Linked DNA regions of Homo sapiens: region 1 is linked to region 2. Evidence: promoter capture Hi-C in 16 types of primary human blood cells and fetal thymus (Javierre and others, 2016). All regions are on one chromosome and are shown on one strand. The core of a region is centred on a gene start or on the middle of the fragment in contact, and the rest is flanking DNA. Distances in the headings are between cores, read along the strand shown.

What was found. Contacts are between HindIII fragments. The CHiCAGO score rates a contact against its expected background, and 5 or more counts as called.
Region 1: a contact is called between a fragment that was not itself captured here and the fragment with the promoter of PPP1R2 in region 2, in 2 of 17 cell types (fetal thymus and naive B cells). The highest score is 7.1, in fetal thymus.

What each region holds. Positions count from the first base shown.
Region 1 is chr3:194,483,902-194,488,470 of GRCh38, forward strand. ATP13A3 (ATPase 13A3) reads right to left here and starts at 3,101. Exons shown (of 34, transcript NM_001367549.1): 1 at 2,665-3,101; 2 at 1,893-1,934. It overlaps ATP13A3-DT (ATP13A3 divergent transcript), which reads left to right and starts at 3,239. Exons shown (of 2, transcript NR_033929.1): 1 at 3,239-3,271; 2 at 3,555-4,569. RefSeq lists silencers at 2,341-2,400, 2,491-2,540, 2,571-3,230 and an enhancer at 3,901-4,120. The HindIII fragment of the contact is 1,515 bases long and covers 1,970-3,484 here.
Region 2 is chr3:195,540,636-195,544,801 of GRCh38, forward strand. It overlaps PPP1R2 (protein phosphatase 1 regulatory inhibitor subunit 2), which reads right to left and starts at 2,690. Exons shown (of 6, transcript NM_006241.8): 1 at 2,269-2,690. The coding sequence starts at 2,390. RefSeq lists a silencer at 2,662-2,901. The HindIII fragment of the contact is 8,075 bases long and covers 1,987-4,166 here.

The DNA.
Region 1 (4,569 bases), core at 1,477-3,976, 1.1 Mb before region 2:
AGAAAAGGATGAGTACAACATATCTAAGAGTTAAACTGAGCTATATTTGAATGGATGATAAATGGAATAGGAGTTGGCAGCTTATCACCTATCAAAGAAAACAGTCAAAACAGTTCACAGTTGTGTGCTAAAAGAAGGTGATCTAGTGTGTGACACCTATTAAGATGACATATCTGATTTATCACCAGAATCTGAGGTTCAGAGATGTTATGTTGCCTAGTCACATACAACTAACCTTATAAACCCAGAGACAGAAACCTCTGTGTTAAGCACATTAACACAGAGCTAGGTTTCTGTCTGTCTTCAAAGTCGCTTATACTGTAAGCTCCTTAACTTCTTTAATTTTTTTTTTAACAAAGAAGAATATTGTTACCTGAAAGTGTTGAGGATTAGTTGAGACCATATGTAAAGAAAGGAGCACTTTTCCTGGCACATAATGGTTTCTTTCCTTCTTCCATTCCATATATTGAATCAAACTATGCTTGTATAACGTGGTGGTTTTGTAACTACTGTGAATATGAGGTTTTAGAATATGAATATGCTTTATTCCTAAGATAAATAGTAATCTTAGGACATAGGCACTATATCATATTACTATGGATATACAACCTACTCAATGGTCAAACTCAGTGAGAATAAGCAGTGATGGGGACGCCCTATGGAACTTTATCTTTATTCTGTCTTTTTTCTCAGTCTCAGTGATGTTGGAAATAAGAACTTTATACTTGTGAATGACAACAAAGTGGTTTATAATCTCGAAAATCTTGAAGACAGAAATAGGATTTCAAAATGAGCTCGATAATGTGGTTTATCCAAAGCGGATTCTGTGTGTTGTATATTTGGTGACCTAAACTAACTATGTAAGTATCAACCGCCAAGCTCGGTGGCTAGCGCCTGTAATACCAGCACTTTGGGAGGCCTAGGCAGGAAGATCACCTGAAGTCAGTAGTTCACGACCAGCCTGGCCAACGTGGTGAAACCCTGTCTCTACTAAAAATACAAAAAATTAGCTGGGCGTGGTGGCACACACCTGAAATCCCAGCTACTTAGGAGGCTGCGACAGGAGAATCGCTGAAACCCAGGAGGCAGAAGTTACAGTGAGCCGAGTTCACACCACTGCACTCCAGCCTGGGCAACAGAGCAAGATGCCATCTCAAAAAAAAAAAAAAAAATTTAAAGCAACCAAATAGTGTCACTTTTCCTACCCAATCCCCTGACCAAAGCCAGGCATTGTTGTTCTAACAAGGCTCAAAATCTCAATTATTTCACTCTCTGCCTGATCTAATGGTAGGATAATGCAAATCAAAGATACCAGCAAAAGTTATGTTCTACAACAATCATTAATAATAGGTTTACTACTTCGAACAACTTCCAAGCACTGATTTGCCTTAAAGGGGTTGCAAACCAGGATGAGATGCCCACACACATTGATTTTTGGCAACTGTAGTCTATTAAGCAAAGCAACAAACCTCTAGAGAAAATAATGTCACATATATTCCAGTGAAACAAAATTAATACATGTACCTTGGTAAAGAGGCTGAGCTCTAACCAAAGATAGAGCACTGTTCATTACGTACTCACCCTTCAAAGGAATCAAATCGAAACACTTTCATTTTAACAACGATACTTTTTAAAGGCTTTATTTTGCAATAATCTTTCAAGTCCCTGCATTTCTTAGATTCCTTAAATTCTAACTTCCTGCCTCATAGATCTAAAGTAGCCATGACATACCCAGGTATGTTCTACTCATTTAGTTAGAATCGTATAGAGGAACACAAGTCTGTTTCTAGGTGTACGACTCCACACCCATTCATTTTGCACTAATATAACCACTAAATATAGCTCTAAGACACTGATGATTAAAAGCGGCTAATTATGTGAGTGATTCATACCTCCTATGTCCAAACACCAAGATTCAGGGATGTCTGTCAGATCTATGGGAAGAGGAAACAATAAACACCTGTCACAAAGCTTCTTCCACACCGGGAAGCCCCCAGCTGAGTTCCTGCCAATCCCAACCCGATTCCCTCCCCCTTCATCCCTACCCCTCACCTCCCCAAAAAAGCCAGAGGTCATACTTCCACCAGAACCTGACTCTGTGAAGGGAATGGAGAGACAGAAAGGCCATAGCGAGAGTGGCCACGAGAGCACTGCTAGGGCAAAGGGCCCTGGGTTTTTCTAGTCCTCACTGCCACAGAGTCCGAGTGGGAGGCCTCAGGCAAGTCAGAAGTCACTTTTCCTCCACGGGACTCACTCCTTTTATCTGTGAAATGCGGAGATGGCAAGCAGCTCCATACTCCACGGCTGAGGACGAGCTAGGGTCCCGCACAGACTCATCGAGGGCCCTGCCAGCACCCCTACGCCTCTGCCCACAGGACCTCCACCTCCCACAGGACTTTCCGAAAGCTCTGACTACCAACCACCAAGCGCCCGGCCCCCACGCTCGCCCCCGGCAGGCGGCGCGTCCCCCCCAGGCCTTCGCACCCACCGCGTGGGCTCCTGCCCTGGCCTCACCTGCCCCCGACACTCCCCGTCCCCGCGATGCCCAACTCCGGCCCGAGAAGGCTGGCCGCGACCTCGCCCGGTACCCGCCGCCCCGACACCACCATTCGCCTCCTCGACCTCCCCCGGCGCCGCTGCCCACCCGCCCCTCGCCCCGCTCACCGGGGCCGCTCACTGGCCGCCGCCGCGCCGCCTCCTCCGCGGCCTCCCTCGCGGCCGGACCAGCCCCAGGGACCGCGGGGGACCCGGCCGCCGCTGTCGCCGCCGCCGCCTCGCCTCAGCCCAGCCCCATCGCCCTCGGCCGGCGCCGCGCGCTGCGGCTCAGGGTGAGGGAAGGAGGCGCCGCGGCGGGGCCGGGCCGGCCCTGGGACGTCCGCGCTCTCCTCCTCCTCCGCGCCCGCGGCGGCGGCGTGCAGCCGGCAGGGCGAGAACAAGGGAGGGCGGCGGGAGGTGGGCAGGGGAGGGGGGCGGTCTGCACTCCGAAACGGCCCCCCCGCCGCCAGCGACGTAGAGAACCCCCCTCCCCTCCGCGGCGGCGCCCGATCACGCTGCGGGGAGAGCCGGCAGGCAGGCGGGGGAGCGCGCGCGGGCTCAGGACTCCCGCGCCGGATGTGAGGTCACGTGGTGGCTTCATCCCCGCGCGGAGGGCGGAGGGGCGCGGGCGACGTCAGGAGGCGGGGAAGGGGCGGGGAGGGGCGGGGCGATTTATAGGCCCCGCCCACCCATCGCCTTTGCCACCCTCGAACGGGCAAAAGAAAGAAAGAGGCAGGTAAGGGGAGGCGAGGCCGTCCAAAAACGCTGGGTGTCAGCCCGGGGTGGCTAATGGAGGGCGGCTTTTCTGGTGGGATGAAATGGAACGGCAAATCCCACTTCATCCCCTTTGGGCTATGACAACATCATAGTCCAATCTCCCATTTTATGAACAGGGAAACTGAGGCTCAGTGACTAGACAGACGTTGCCCAGAGTCATGGTCATGGAGGAAGCTTGTGCTAGAATGGTGGAGAGGAAACCAGAGCCCAGCTCCTAATGCAAGGCTCTTTCATTCCTTTAGCCACCCTCGCCCCCGCCAAAACAAACAGACAAAAAACTGTCATTCTCATATGACCACGGACTCTGCGCCCCGGCCGCAGGCGGAGGACAGGGAGGAGCGCACACGAGAAAGCTCCCACGCGCCCGCGCCTCGCCTCCGACGGGAAGGCGCCTCTTCCGACCGTCCTGGATGCAAATTAAATACTTCCCTCCGCAGAAGACTTATCTCGGGGTAGGGCCGCAGCCGGATTTCCAAATCGCGGGTTTGATTTTCGCTGCGTCCTCTCCGCGACGCGCGCAGGGAGCGCGCCCGGCCACCTGCAGCCTCTGGCTGCGGCCATCTTTCCGCCTGGGGCCACCTGGCCTGCGCCCTTTGTGCCCGGCCCGCTCCGTGACTGTTCTTCTTGCCGCTACTTACAGAACTCAGCCGCCTTAGCGTCTTAGAGAAGAGGACGGCATGCATGCGGACCCCGTCCACCACACCTGGAGAGCAGGGAGCCCTTAGTCCCTGGACACTTACCAGGGCCGCCACCCCTGGTCCACGCACGTGATGACATCTCACCAGGGGCAGCACACCGCCCGAGTCCGCGACACTGATAACACCTCCTGCGGGCAGGAGGGCGCCACAGCCACCCCTGGTCCCCTAGATTGTGTGAGGCTAGCATTTCTGCCCGCCTCTTGGCGTGGACAGCACGCTGGACCGAGATGGAACCACAGCTTTCTCTTCCCAATCCCTGGCCTCACCGTTTTGTTTCATACCTCACCGTTTGTTTCAAACCTCGTGGTGTTGAAATGATTAAATGAGATTAAGGGGTGTGTGGTAGTGTTGGGCAAACCACAAGAAAACGGTCTGGGTGGGGTCTGGCCCTAAAATCTTCCTCCCCCACCTCCCAGGCTTCCTTGCCTTGCTGCTTCCTCTCAGCCTTTAAACAGGTTGGCCTCTCCAAGTCCTAAAAACAAAATTATCAAGCCAACCTCCTCCTGAAGTGCTCCCTCCAACTAGCTTCCAAGTGTTTCATGCGGACCTCAAACAATGG
Region 2 (4,166 bases), core at 1,440-3,939:
ACGGATTAATGGGTTATCAAGTGAGTGGTTCTGGTGGCTTTATAAGAAGAGGAAGAGAGACCTGAGCTGGCACGCTCAGCTTCCTTGCCATGTGATGCCCTGCACCACCTTGGAACTCCACAGAGTCCCCACCAGCAAAAACGCTCTCACCAGATGCACCCTTAAGACCCTGGACTTCCAAGCCTCCAGAACCGTAAGAAATAAATTCAGTTTCTTATAAATTATCATTTCAGACATTCTGTTATGACCAACAGAAAACAGACTAAGACTATATTGTATTACTAGTAGAATTAGTTTATTTGCTTTACAGTCACATAACAAGGATCATTAAAAAACCCATCCTTTTTACCACTTGGAACCAAACATCATGAACTTCAATGAATTAGGGTTTGATAGTTCTCTTTAAAGACAGGACTGTAACTCTAACTCGACAGGTCAGTCCCTTTTAAGTGAATCTACCCTGCCACAGATACTACAGAAGAGGCAGCCCTATGCAGTTGAGTCAGTCTAGTATAGTGGCTTTTGAGGCAGAAAGACCTGAATGTAAATCCCAACCAATTACAGAAAGAAAGAGGCCAATCCATAGATTGGGCCCACGGGAAATTACAGCAGATCCAAGTTAAGAATAAACAGAAACTAAAGAAGCAGAGATAAAGAGTAACTCACTTGGTAAATGGACCAAAAGAAACTCACACTGGAGAACAGCTAAATAACATAAATGCCAGTAAGGACCACATTCCTGCTGCTGAAAACCCTGAAGCTACATTTGAGCCTTCTGTAGTTACGTTACTTATCTTTTAATTCCTTTTCTTTTCTTTCCTTTTTTTTTTTTTTTTTTTTTTTAAGAGATGAGGTCTCATTATGTTGCCCAGGCTGGTCTCAAACTCCTGGGATCAAGCAATCCTCCCACCTTGGCCTCTCCAAGTGCTGAGATTACAGGCGTGAGCCACCACGCCTGGATGTTATTTATCTTTTAACTAACTTGGTTCTCCTGCTTCAGTTATGTTCTGGTGAAATTCTGTCTTCTTAATTCCATGACCTACACATCACACTCCCCCAGCACTCCATTTAACGTGGCTTAGCCCAAAGAAGTTGGAAAATTGTGTGTGAGAGAATGTAAGATTCAAGCATCCATGAGCGTGGGAGTTGCTAGACAAAAACTAAGGTCCTTTCCAGCCCCAAAAGGCCACGATTCTAACCTATGAACCTACTCAATATTTCCTTCAAGGTAACACAAATCCCTAAAATTTACCACCACCAAGCAGTAGTTCCTTTTATGGTCCTAAATAAGATCCTTTATCCAGGAATGCCCTAGGTTCCTATATTCTGAGATTTCACAAACATCCTCATTTTAGCTTCTGACTACCAATTTCAATGGTAACTTTTCTTAAGCCTTATTTTCAGAAAGTAGAGTCCTTCTATTTTTAGTATCTTGCAACGCCCAAGCCCCCGTGCACTTCTAACCCACTACAGATACTGTACTGCAACATTTTCTCCGTGCATAAACGCCTACCTTTCTTTTTTTAAAGGCTAGTATATTGTTCCATTATACAAACGTACCGTAATTAATATTTCACCAGCTCTTACTAATGGACTTCCGGTCGTTTCCAATTATATTATAAATATTACATACAATGCTCAGGTCAACAACTTTTTACATGTGTATCTTTAGCGTATGCAAGAGCAACTAAATTACCACTGGGTCATTTCAAGTTGCTCCTCTTTGAACTGTTTTGAGCTTAGATCTATCTCTGAACAGGAACAAAAACTAGAAAGCACCCAAAACTCTGGTTGCAGATGCAGAAATACAGTGTGGCACAATGCTAATGGGGGAAATGGTCTCTTCTTTGACGGATCGCCTATTAGCTTGAGACTAGATCTTAAAGGGTTCCCAAAGCAAGAAAATACACTGTAATTATCGAAGAATTTTAGATACCTCAGAGATGAGGTTAAGAAATAGTAAAAGCTTAACAGTCGAAGATCTGAAGCTTCAATTTCATTCTTTGATGTTCCCGATTACAGAAAGTTCAAAGATGATGTTTAAAAATATTATATATGCCCAAATGCTTAAAAAAAAAAAAGGAAGCATGATAAACGTCATCGCCCAGCCTTCTTAAAGATCGCTCCCACCCGCGGCTAGCCGGGCAGGAGAAGAGACTCGAGCGGCACCCGAGCCGCATCCACGCCGCCCGCCCGCCCCTGGGGTCTGGGTAGGTAACGGGCCCGGCGGGAAGGAGGGGCTCCCAGGCCGTCCCTCCCAGCGCTCACCTCAGCTCCTCGTCGACATTCCCGCGGGGCTGTTCGGCCGACGCCACCATAGAGGAAGTCGTAGAGGTCTTGTTCTTCAAGATCCCCTTGATGGGCCGGTGCGAGGCCGTCGAGGCCGCCATTGCCGGGCGCTCCGGCTGTCGGCTCAGGGTCGCTGCTTGGCGTGGGGTCCGCGAAGAGAAGGGTCGGCACAGCAGAGACTCGCAGGCAGCCGCAGATCCCGCTCAGGGCTAAAGCGGCCGCAACTGCTGCCTCGGAAACGGCTACCGCAGCGGTTGTCACGACACAACGACCCCGACGCCAGAGCCAACGCCGAACGGGTGGCGGCTACTCGCGCACCCTTAGCCACTGGCACTTGACCCGCGGCTCGCGGAGAGACGCCGGCCTAGAGCTCCAGCGCAGGAGCGACGCGACGCCGAAGCCAAGCGGACCCGCCCTCTCGCGATATCTAGGGAGGAGGCGGGGAGAGGGCGGGGCGAGAACAAAGCCGACCTCCTCGCCCCGCCCCCTCCGTCCCGCCCGGGCTGCTCGCCCCGCCCCCGCGCGGCGCTGGGAGGCGGGAGCTGTCTCTGAGAACCTGCGGGAGAGCGCCCGGGCTTGCTGCTTCCCGGACCCGCGCGTCTCTCGAGCACCCTCGTCCCACCACCTTGTGAGGCCGTAGTGTTATTTTTATTTTTTAGATCAGCAGACTGAGACTCGAGGTGACGTCACTCCGCAGAGAGGTTAGCTGACTTGAAGAAAACGGGTATCTCCTCTTTCCATTTCGCCCGTGTAAACAGCCGAACTGCCTATTATAAAAGCATGGACTGCCAGCATTGGAGTGGTCCTTAGAGGCCTATTATGAAATCATAGAATGTCTGCATTGGAATCGCCTCACCTCCTTTTACCGCTGGAGAAGCCGACGGACAGACGGGCAGCGACCCCCGCCGTCGCACAACCCGTCTAGGCAGAGAGCGCAGGAGACGGGAGGGCGGCAGGGACACATCTCCCAGCCAAGGACCTCCTGGGCCCGCAGAGGCCGCGACAGGTTCCCCCCACAGAGGGAACCAACTCTGCCGCAGGTTGATGTGGACTTCAAGCCTGCAGAACGGAGAGCCCATTTCCATTGCTTAAAGCCACCTCGTGTGTGGTATTTGTTATGGTCCCTGTACACTCCCTTCCCTCCCTCTCCCAAGTCCAGTCCGCAGCTCGCTCATCACCAGGCTCTTTTCCATGACTCTTTCTTGATCAGGCCTTTTTATCGTCCTCACCACAGGTTAGAGCACAGCAGACTGAGCCACCCAGAACTGGCCCCTCCGGTGGACCAGCCCCTGCGGATTCACAGACCACTGGTCCTGGAAGGGACCTTGTCAAGCAGGCCCATAAGGTGGCTATTCAGCCTGTTTCTCCAACAACCCCAGGGGCTAGAAGCCCGCCACACCCCCGTGTAACTCATTTTGTTTTTGGACAGCTCTGACTCTGGGAGTTCTTAGATTGAGCTGACACCTCGCTCCCAGCAATGTCTGTCCACTGCTGTGGGGGGTGAGAGGAAGCGTTTTCCCCTATCTAGCCCCTATAGCAGCAGTTTCACTCCCATGGCTCATCTCTGGACCACAGTCTCATCTTCTTTAACACAGGCTCTGTGCCTTTTGAGGATGACCCTGTTCTGTGTCCTTAGGACTCTGCCCCTCAGGGATGACTGTAGGGTTCTGAAAACGATTGTTTTTATCGTCTGGCCCCGAGCCCCTAGCTCCTAGATGAGTTCCTGGCACAGAACAGGGCCTCAGTATGGGAATGGATGTGGATGGAGATAATGGAGGGGAAGTGAGCTGGAAGGGGAGAAGGGAAACAGGGTTGCTGGTCACAGAGTGGAATGTGTTCCCCAGGGATTTGCCTCAGCCAGGGGCCTGCACAGTCAC